3 separate regions of the Homo sapiens genome follow, and regions 2 and 3 are each linked to region 1. The links are contacts of gene promoters, found by promoter capture Hi-C in blood cells and fetal thymus (Javierre and others, 2016). All regions are on one chromosome and are shown on one strand. Each heading gives the region's core, a stretch centred on a gene start or on the middle of the fragment in contact. The rest is flanking DNA. Distances are from core to core; before and after follow the strand shown.

Region 1 (3,298 bases), core at 243-2,742:
ATAAACGATACTGTAAGCTGTTCTTAACTGCAGAGAGGTAAGAGAAGGGGCTGCTTATTTTCCCTGGTGGAGAATACTTTCACAAACTACTCCCCTCAAACATACGAAGTTGAAAATCACAGTAGAGTGAAATACTAAAACAGATGATAATGTTTCATATGGATTACATTTGTTACAGCTAAAAAAAAAAGCCAATTACTGCTACAAACATTGAGTAATAACTGTGGTATTCTGACGAGGAAAGAACATGGTGATGATCAGTCTGAGTGGCAAGTAAGACCAGTTAGGTGGTGCAATGAGCAGGACATGAAATATTAACTGTAACAGCTGTGACAGCACTAGAAAGCAGGAAAAGATCAGATGCTATAAGGTAAAAAGCATCAAGGTGAATGGAAAACTGGCATGAAATGATTCCAGGGTTCATTCTTTAATTCAACAAATATTTATCCAGTGCCTACCACGTGCCAGGTCCTAGAAGCTGGGACTAAAGATAACAGGGCAATCTTTGCCTTAAACAAGTTTTAGTCCAGAAGACGAGAAAGCCAGTGCCAATGATGAAACTCAAGTGAGGTGGATTTCCAATGGACATGTTGGTTTTGTTTGAAATCAGCAAAGTTGGGAAGCACCCAACTAATCACTGGGGATTCTACTGATCAAAGACTACAACGTTTTATAGTACAATATGAAAAAATTACCCAAATATAGGTTACTCACTAGCATTTACCGAGGGCACACTATGGAAAACACGTTGCTGCAACAGAAAACCTTGAGAACACCAAAGTTAGAATAAATTAAGTAATTACTGGTAATATGAGGTGTGAACTTCAGTGACCTAATTAGGCTACTGTCAACACCGCCACTGGTTCGGACAGAACAGGTAAAGCAAGTCTTCTAATATCCACCCTTTCTTACTGCACTCTTGAAAAGTAGTAAAGCTTGGACTGTGGCAATTACCTGATTAGGGGGTTTCCCCAAAAGGTGCTGACCTGAAAAGGAAGGGACATGCTGTGGATGTGAGTTATCCATTTCCTTGCGAGGACAAGTTTGAATCTCCTGATAAGGAAAATTCTTTCGCAAATTCCCTCCCTCACAACTAAGAAAAGTACAAGAACCTGGAGCTCAGGGCGTACGGAACTCCCACCCCAGACCTCCCCAGGGAAACCTACAGAGGTTCCTGGCCTGCAGGGCAGTTCTAAAGCGCCCAGCCGCCCTCGCCGGGTTCGCACTGAGCCAGCGCCGCGGGGAGGAGCCCACGCGGGCCGCCAAGCCTGCCCGGCGCTCCTCCGTACCTGATGCTCCCTTTTGGAGGAAGGCTCCTCTTTCACCTCCGTCACAAACACACACGGCATTTTCCGCTGCACGGAGCCCAAGCGCTTCATGATGAGCCCAACAAGCAGTGCGAATGGAGGGCGTGCTTTCGAGCGGCGCCCGGTCCAGTCGCGGAGAAGCCCTGAAGCAGTCACCCGCACGGCTCAGGCCACGCACACTCCGCGCCCAGCCACCGCGGCTGCGCCCCAACTACCAAGCCCAGCGAGGGGCGGGAACGCCCGTCCAGAAGCGGCTTCCTGGCCGCGGCGCCTTCTGGGAGTTGTAGTGCAGAAGCTGAGGCGCCTGGTGGGTTCCCACGTGCGTCCTCCGCCCCCCACCCTCGGTTTTAATAACCGTGAAAAAAAAAAAAAAAAGATGCGTTTCCCGAACGTGGGTACTTAGCAATACCTAGTAACTAATGATTTTTTGGGAAATTAAATAAGATCAAATTATAAGCAATGAACATTTCAGATGTCGATTTAACACAGTTCCAATGGAAACTGCTTGCCTGTTATCTTTAGTTCGTGGGGGAAGCACTGTAGAAGTTTAGAAATGGCTAGAGACATCCCCAGATTCCCAAGCAGAATGAAAACTTCCTTTCCGGTAAGACTATCAGAAAACCCTATAATAAAACACCTGGGATCAAAAAAAGTTGTCGTTTGAACTACTCCTTATTGTGCAGCATAGCATGGTCGAAATGATTCTGATGTTCTTTTCGGAGTGAGTGCGAAATTTCAGCCTTAGACTAATCCAAAAGTACAGGAATACCTACAACCAGATTTCATTCTCAAGTTTTTCATAAGAATCTTGTTTAATTAAAGGTGAGCTCCAACAGCCCAAATGGCTTGAGTAATGGTAGTCAATCAACTGCGAGCTAAAAACAGCCTTAACTTACTGCTCAAAAGAATATTTTGAGGGTAAGTGATAAGATGGACAATGACTAAATAAAATAAATACTAAATATTTAGGAATAGTAGCCTTTCCATCTCATTGAATGTAGTAGTTCCTAGCCTGAAGTTGTAGGGGAATTTTGACTTTACTGCCATCCTTTATGGGCTTGGACTAGGCCCAGGTCTCATTTCTTTGTCTTATCTGCATGTACTCAACTGTCCAGCATGTTACTGACTTAGCCCTTGGAAAAATTAAACAACTATATCTCACTTAGAGGTATCTAACTAGTAAGGGGGTTCTCAAAGAATAAAACATCTTCCTTTAAAAAGTTCACAGTTATATTGAATACTGACAGTGAAAAAAAATAAAATTTAAAAAAAGTTCACAGTTTTTTGATTACTGGATTCAGAGGGGAGGGAGGAAGAAAGAGATTTGCCATTTCAAAGTGTTTACTTTCTTTTCTACTATCTTTTTCTCACAGGAAAACACAAAATGTTCTCCCACATCACACCCCGCCTGCATTTATCAAAAAAGAAAACACCTGATGCTGGCTGTGTGCTGTTGGAACCAGAAACTTTTTAGCATATTATAGTCGAGTGCCAGTGACTTCTTTGTTCTTTCAGAGGCATTCTAAAAAGCGGCGTGTTTCACGAATCTCAGAGACAACAACTTTCACAACTATCAACTGTCACCTCCCAAACTGCCACAGAACCTTTTAAGTCCAACATTCTGTCATTTGTGGGAAATACTCATCTTCTAAAACACACTCTACTTATTCTTTGAATAGTAGTTGCAAAGCTAGTCATCTCTCAGGAAGCACTTTCTATTTCCAAAACTTTGGTTTCATCAGTACCTGGAGCAAAGCTTCTGGCAGAAACACAAATCCTCATCAGGGGAGAGGCACAGGATCAACTCACGGTTATAAACTGGACTCCTGCTCTGACGGGTAGCAGCCATCAACTTTGCCCGATTCTCATAATTCTGAAGGGTCACCAAGGAGTTGCTACCAGCCACTGTACTTAAAGTGGTGTCACAGGATTACAAAATAGAAGAAAGTCTTTCTTCTCTGACTAATATGTTAGTGCTCTAGTAAGCATCA
Region 2 (3,298 bases), core at 424-2,923, 980 kb before region 1:
ATGTGCTGCTTGGCCATTTGCCCTTTTATGCATGATCCTGTAAATATCTGTAAGCCACCACTTACTTATCTACTCTCCCAATTATGAGCACCCAGGTTACCTCCAGTTGCTGGACACTACAAACCACACTGTCATCTTTGTGCATATATGCTTGCAAGCCTGTGTGAGGATTTATTTGAGATATATGCCCAGGAATGAAATGGCTGGATCATAGGTTATGTAGATACTTTATCTGCTTAAATAAGAACAGCAGCACCAATGTACACTTTCACATTACTCAACATCTTTACCTATGTGTCTCTGCATGCACAGGTATAAAGTCTGGAAAATTACAGTTTTGGCCTTACTCACACAACTTCCTGAAAATAATTTCTCAACCCTAGTCCCCATACATCATGAAAAGAGCCTTTCCTTATGACAATGTGGACTTGTGCTTCTTTGTCCCACCAGGTCCCTATCTATCTTTCTGCCTCCTCCCTATGCATGAAGCACCTCATCCTCAAATTTGGGGAGATCCTGTCCAATTTAAAAATTCTGCTACTCAATCATACTAAAATAGAAAGCTATGATTGATTTTGATGAGTATGACTATCTATTTGGGGTGGGAAGAAGAGATGAACATGGTTTGTTTTTTAGATGGTAAAAACAACTAAATAGAACACTAAGAGATGTGAGCAAGCACTAGAGTGGTGCCAAAATTGTTCTTCGCTCTGATCCCTCCGTTCAACAGATCTATAAAGCCCTTCCCAGTCTCTCTTCAGATGCCAGGGCTACGGGATTCCACTGGCTGTAGCACCTCATCGCCTGCTGTAGGCTCCATGACTCGTTTCCAGTCTGCCATCTTGTGGTCCTTCCTGTTGCTGCATTCATACTGGTTTACCGAGAGGGCAACAGTGGATTTAGTAGACTTCACGTAGCTTGCGTCGCTGCTCCTGTCTCCGTGTAACTCACAATAAAGAGATTTTGGCATCAACCGTGAGCTTAGGGGTAGAAGGGTATATGTTAGGAGGTGGGAGCAGAATCAATTCTTCAAATCTTAATGATGTAAGTCATAAAGATGTTTCCTCGAGCCACTGTTGATTCATTGTTAATGATTCATTGTTAATGATTCATTACTGCGTTTTCTGCAACACTAAGAAACCGTTGTTTCTACTAACTTTATAAAAAACATATAAGATAAAGAACAAGTGAAAATCCAGATTTTTTTAATGAGGTATGTATACCTTCGTGGAAAATTTGAAGACAGAGACAATGTTTTACTATTTTCATTTTTGCACCTACAGTTTCTAGCATAGGCTTGGCATCTTGTAAATATTCAATAAATGTTTGTTGAATGAGTGCGTTAATTGATTCTCCTACCAGTCTGAGCTATCAGTTATGTCTCTGTGGCTAGATGGACACCATGTCTTCCATCCCTGCCAAGAGTTCAACTGAATTCAAGTTTATAAATGGAAATGTGTGTGTATGAAGGAATTAAAACAATTCAGAAAATATAAAGTTTTAAAAACGACCTTTCCTAGACATAGTCATTGTTAATAACTGGGTATGTATCTTTCTAGACCTTTTCAATATTTCTATGTATTTACATATATAAATATACAAATCTATACACACATATAGATTTATTAAAACATAAAAGGGGTTTCTTTGGGAAATAGTTCTTGAATTTGCTTATTTTTCTTACAGTTAATACGTGTAGGAGATCATTCCATGTCCATATGTAGAAGTCTATAGCATTCTGTTTGGCAGATGGATAGCATTACATAGTATAAATGTCTCATAATGTTAAAATCATTTCCCCTTTAGTGGAAATCTTTGTTCTTACAATGTTTTCCTGTACAATTCTTGGCCATGAAACTTGGTACACAAATGTGTCTTTCTGTAGGTCAGTGTCCATGAAGTGGGGTTGCTGGTCAAAGTATATATTGTATTTAAAATTTTTCACGAATACTCCTAAATTTATTATGAATTGATACAAAGGCCTTGTCTCACGAATTAAGATTAATAAGAAATACGGAAATCATTATTACTTTTTAATTTTTAGGGATGTATTTGACATGATCCTAAATAATGTGGCTGGCTGAACTTCCTGTTTCCTAATCATTTGTATATCTTCTAGATACTTCTATATATGCTGGCTTGAAAAACTGGCACAGAGAAGCATAACTGGGCTTGGTTTTTCTTTTTCTCGTTTCTCCTATGGAGAATTCTAAGCAGCAGGTAGCACCCTGGAGCACTGTGTTTGAGCTCTGAGAGCGGTCCTTCTATGGATTCAACTGGTTCACAAAAGAAAACTTTTGCAGTATCAATATTTGATATATGTTTGACTTCATATTATTACATGACATTTCTTTTTGTCATGAAAAATGAATACTTATTTATTATAGAAAATATTAAAAATGCAGAAAAGTGTTAAAAATATAGAAATAAACTATAGTCTCATAAACCAGTGATAACTAACCTTAACATTTTGGTTTATATCTTACTAGATGTATACTGTTTTTAAACAAAATTGGGATGACACTATATTACCATTTTATAATCTGTTTTTTTCTCTCTACCTAAAAATATATTACAAACTTTCTGCCATATTAATATGGCATCACTTCAATGATTGGTTTAGAGAAAGCATAACCGTATAACACTTTCAGCTTACTCAGAATTTACAACTAGATCTCTGATGCTTCAAACTCATTTAAACACATATGATCTAAGGCAGAGAAATCCTACCTGTATGTTTGTATGTTCTCTGTCACTAATTAGAATAGCTATATCTTTCTGAGTAGTTACTACATACTAAATGTTTTGCAAAGCATGTGACATTATTTCTAATTGTCAAAACTACCTTCAGAAGTAGGTATTATTGTCAAAATTTTGCAGAAGAGGAAACTGAGATTCAAAGAGTTTCAGCAAATTGCTCAAGGACGCACAGTGAGAAAATGGTAGGGTTTAAATTAGAATCCAGGTCTATCTGCTTGTAAAACTCTTGCTTTTTAAAACTCTATCTGCTGTTTTGATATGCATAATATTTTCAAGTATGACTTCTGTTCTAAAAGTCGCTGTCTAATATTAACTTCATAATTGAGTTGAAAGTAATCTCTGAAAGGAATTAAGACGCTTTATTTATTTTCTTTAGCTACGTAAAAAAGTTAAAGCACAGTGTTTATTCTCTTTTCACTGATGAAAACAACGCTTTGCTTGCGGATGGGCAGAGAACTTCTGTAACAATTGGAACTAGAGCGCCATCTGTTGACTGTAGAGTTCTAGGCATTTAATACAGGAAAATTACAAATCTGAT
Region 3 (3,298 bases), core at 410-2,909, 960 kb before region 1:
GTAACTTCTGAAAGACTAAATTCTTCCGTGCCGCTAAGAACCCCTTTAGCTGGTAGACTGAGTAGAATAAGAAATTAGAGAGGCTGCCCTTTAAACTCTCCTTTCTCATTTATTTCAACTTCAACTCACAATGGCAAAATAATTAGATTTTTGACAGGTATATCTTTAATCTTTGAATATTAATTTCTCATGAGTCATATTGGACAATGATGCTAGACAAAATAGACAGTGAATTTCAGCACTGATATGGAGTGGGCTTGGAGCTAACATAACTAATTTACCACTCTGACATGTTCAGAACCTTTTGAGAGTTTACTCTACACTTGACTTTGGAGGGTGCTCTCTACATTAGCAGTGGTTCCAAGAAGAACCCAAAGGAGTAATGGTTGGTGTTAGAAAGAGGCCTTGTAAACATAGGAATGGGGCTACCCTAATAGAATGATCTTCTCCTTGTCTGATTATACTTTTAATGGTTAAACCCAGTAGATTAAGATAAAAACTGGAAATTGTCAGGAAGAACTTTTTTTTTTTTTTTTTTTTTTTGCTCCAGATACTTCATTTCCATCCACCCTCACTCGCTCCTCCCAATAAGGAGAGAATAACCTGACTATTGATTTGGGGTCTGGAACTGGGCAAGTGAATCTGGGAACTGACACTGCTCCCAGTTGCTCTCAAGATTATGGGCCACATTAATCTTAGTCATGAAAATCTTTTCCCCATGTGTGAAGCTTGTATCGGTCCAGTACTGACTGTGAGTAAGTCAGCCTAATTCCGGAGTTCAACATTATGAAACCCACTTCTCTGCCAGATGTAAGCTACATTTCCTGATACCAGCCTTGTAGGTTATAACAGTAATGTTTTTGTTCTTCATCTGTGAATTCTAGTTTCATTTGAGAGGGAAATATTCCATACTGCTGCTGTTGTCTTTTAAGTGGAACTATCTGCATTTGTATAACCTTCCTGACCTCTCTATATCCACTCACTTAGCACTTGGAGAGGTGAAGTGATTTACCATATGGGTGATTTTGCAAAAAGAAACCAGGCATGTCTTCATCTCTTCTACTTTGGAAGAGGTCTGACAATTACTCTTGACCATGTCATGAAGTTAGTGGTAAAGGCTTTCCCCTCTTATAGGAAAGGTCTGCCCTAACTTACACTATGTATTTTTTTTATTATTTTAGAATATTCAATTCTGTTGTAGAAGATAGGAAATACAAATGGGATTGATGAAACTCATTTAATATGTTTAATTATATATAAGTCAGTAACCTGTAAGATGACAGACATGGATAAAGTAATTAGAGCATATGAGTGCTAAACACAGATAAAAAGTAAAGAAGAATGAAGAGGATCTAAATATTTATAATTCATTAAATAGATATGAGGCACTGAAGCACCTAATACTGATGATATGCATGAAGCAGCAGTAAGTCTAAAATCGGTCATCCATTCTGGCCCTACAAGTTCTCTGCCCAGGAAAAGCAATTAAAAATTTATAGTTGCTTATCAGGTTAATTGCCCCTGGGTCTCTTCAACAGAGCAAGAATATATGTTGGCTCAGCCACCTTTTATCTGGAGACCCCCTTGCCTCAAAATTCAACTCTGGTCCTCACAACCCTATCATCAGGAGGGAAGACTGGTGCCACAGAGACACAGGATTCAGCTAGCGTGGTCCCTTTATCTTGCTTGCATCCTATCCTAACTGTATTAACTTATGCCATATCTTTCCCTTTTCTTCTTACTATGTTTTATATTAATTTAGTAAGCCATGTGATTTGAGCATCTTAACTTGACCAGTAAACCTCTCCATTCTATGACCTCTGGAATAGCTTGCCTCATGGTGTACTCGAAAGCCACCATTTTTAAATGCAATTTCCCACATGCTTAGACTGATTTTGTATTGGTTCAACACTACAAGAGAAGATGGGTTTACTAGAATTTTATATCTCATCCACCAGTAGATGAACAGATAATGTATGATTTATCCCTAGAATGAGTGCAATACAATTATTAAAGCGATTAAAATTTATTTAATGTAACAGGAACAAATGTAAAAAATGCAATATCAAATGTAAAAAACTTAATTACTGAAAGATACACACAATGCAGTCAATTTATATAAATGTTAAAAACCTACGAGTTACTAATTTTGGCTTAGAATCCAGTCTACCCTTCTCTCTTCCAACGAGAGAAGAGCCCATTGCCCAAGATTCAGCAATGTATATGGTTATACTGGCAGATATTATCCAGCCTCCCTTGAAGCTAGGTACAGCCATGAGTAAAATTCTGCCCCATATGGTGTGAATAGAATTATGTGTACAACTTCAATTTTATATCCATAAATGTGAAAGGGGGCTGCACATCCACCCTCCCTCTCTTTTCCCTTTCCAATGGCTAGAATGCAAGAATGCCAGCTTCAACTATGAAGACACCCGAGGTCATGATGCAGCAACAAGAGAGGGAATCTAGATCTTGGCTAATCTTGTGGGTAAAGACATCTGCCCTGAATTGCTAGCCTATCACTGGACTCTATGAGCCATGGAATTTTTGAACCATTATATTTTGGGGTTTCTTTTTTATAGAAGCTTAATATGCATCCTAATTAATATAACACAAAATGATACATTTATTTTCGATTCATATGCAATAAAGTAAAAATTTATGGGATGATGCACACCAGTTAGAGGATCATGGTTCACTCTGTGGAAGGAGAGAGTAAAAGGGATGGGGTAGTGCAAAGGTAGGTGATCTATAACTAGTAAGATGAATGCACAAAGTCATAAAAATCCAGACTCATTTTTTTTCCTTGCTCACTCACTCCATGTCACTTCCTTCCTCAAAGTCACAAGATGTTTGCTGGAATCCAGCCATCACATTCATATTCCAAGGAGAAAGCAATAAAATGGAGGAGAGAAAAAAAATTCATGCCAAATTAAGGTCACTTAAAGAGATTTTATGTAAATCCCACCCAAAAACATCTGCTTACATTTCTGTGTAGTCATGCCCTCTCTACTTTATGTTCCATGTTATAGTTAAAGCGACCCAGTGTTTTATGCATCAATAACTCCTCAAGCCTCAGAATTCAGTTCAGACCTTAAATTGGCAAATGAAGTCCCTCATGATCCAGCTATTATCCCTCCAGCTCCATCTTCTATACCTCCCTGCTTGCAGGCAATGCTCCAGACAGATCAAATGCTTTCAGTTCTTGAAAATTGCTACAATCTCTCTTGTTCCTTTGCCTTGGCAACTACATCTCCTTCTGTTTGGAACGTTCTTTCTTCACTTAACTAACTCCTTT

Evidence for each region. Contacts are between HindIII fragments. The CHiCAGO score rates a contact against its expected background, and 5 or more counts as called.
Region 2: a fragment that was not itself captured here is called in contact with the fragment with the promoter of RLIG1 in region 1 in 4 of 17 cell types (naive CD4 T cells, monocytes, activated CD4 T cells and 1 more); the score reaches 6.1 in naive CD4 T cells.
Region 3: a contact is called between a fragment that was not itself captured here and the fragment with the promoter of RLIG1 in region 1, in 4 of 17 cell types (M0 macrophages, monocytes, M1 macrophages and 1 more). The highest score is 14.8, in M0 macrophages.

The regions. Positions count from the first base shown.
Region 1 is chr12:88,033,730-88,037,027 of GRCh38, reverse strand. RLIG1 (RNA 5'-phosphate and 3'-OH ligase 1) reads right to left here and starts at 1,492. Exons shown (of 7, transcript NM_001009894.3): 1 at 1,290-1,492. The coding sequence starts at 1,379. LOC107984542 (a long non-coding RNA gene) reads left to right here and starts at 1,532. Exons shown (of 3, transcript XR_007063395.1): 1 at 1,532-1,614; 2 at 2,681-3,298. The HindIII fragment of the contact is 2,128 bases long and covers 938-3,065 here.
Region 2 is chr12:89,017,299-89,020,596 of GRCh38, reverse strand. LINC02458 (long intergenic non-protein coding RNA 2458) reads left to right here and starts at 905. Exons shown (of 3, transcript NR_038385.1): 1 at 905-1,044. The HindIII fragment of the contact is 6,702 bases long and covers 1-3,298 here.
Region 3 is chr12:88,996,104-88,999,401 of GRCh38, reverse strand. No RefSeq gene overlaps it. Among named protein-coding and RNA genes, the nearest start is that of LINC02458, 22 kb to the left of the region's middle. The HindIII fragment of the contact is 1,857 bases long and covers 731-2,587 here.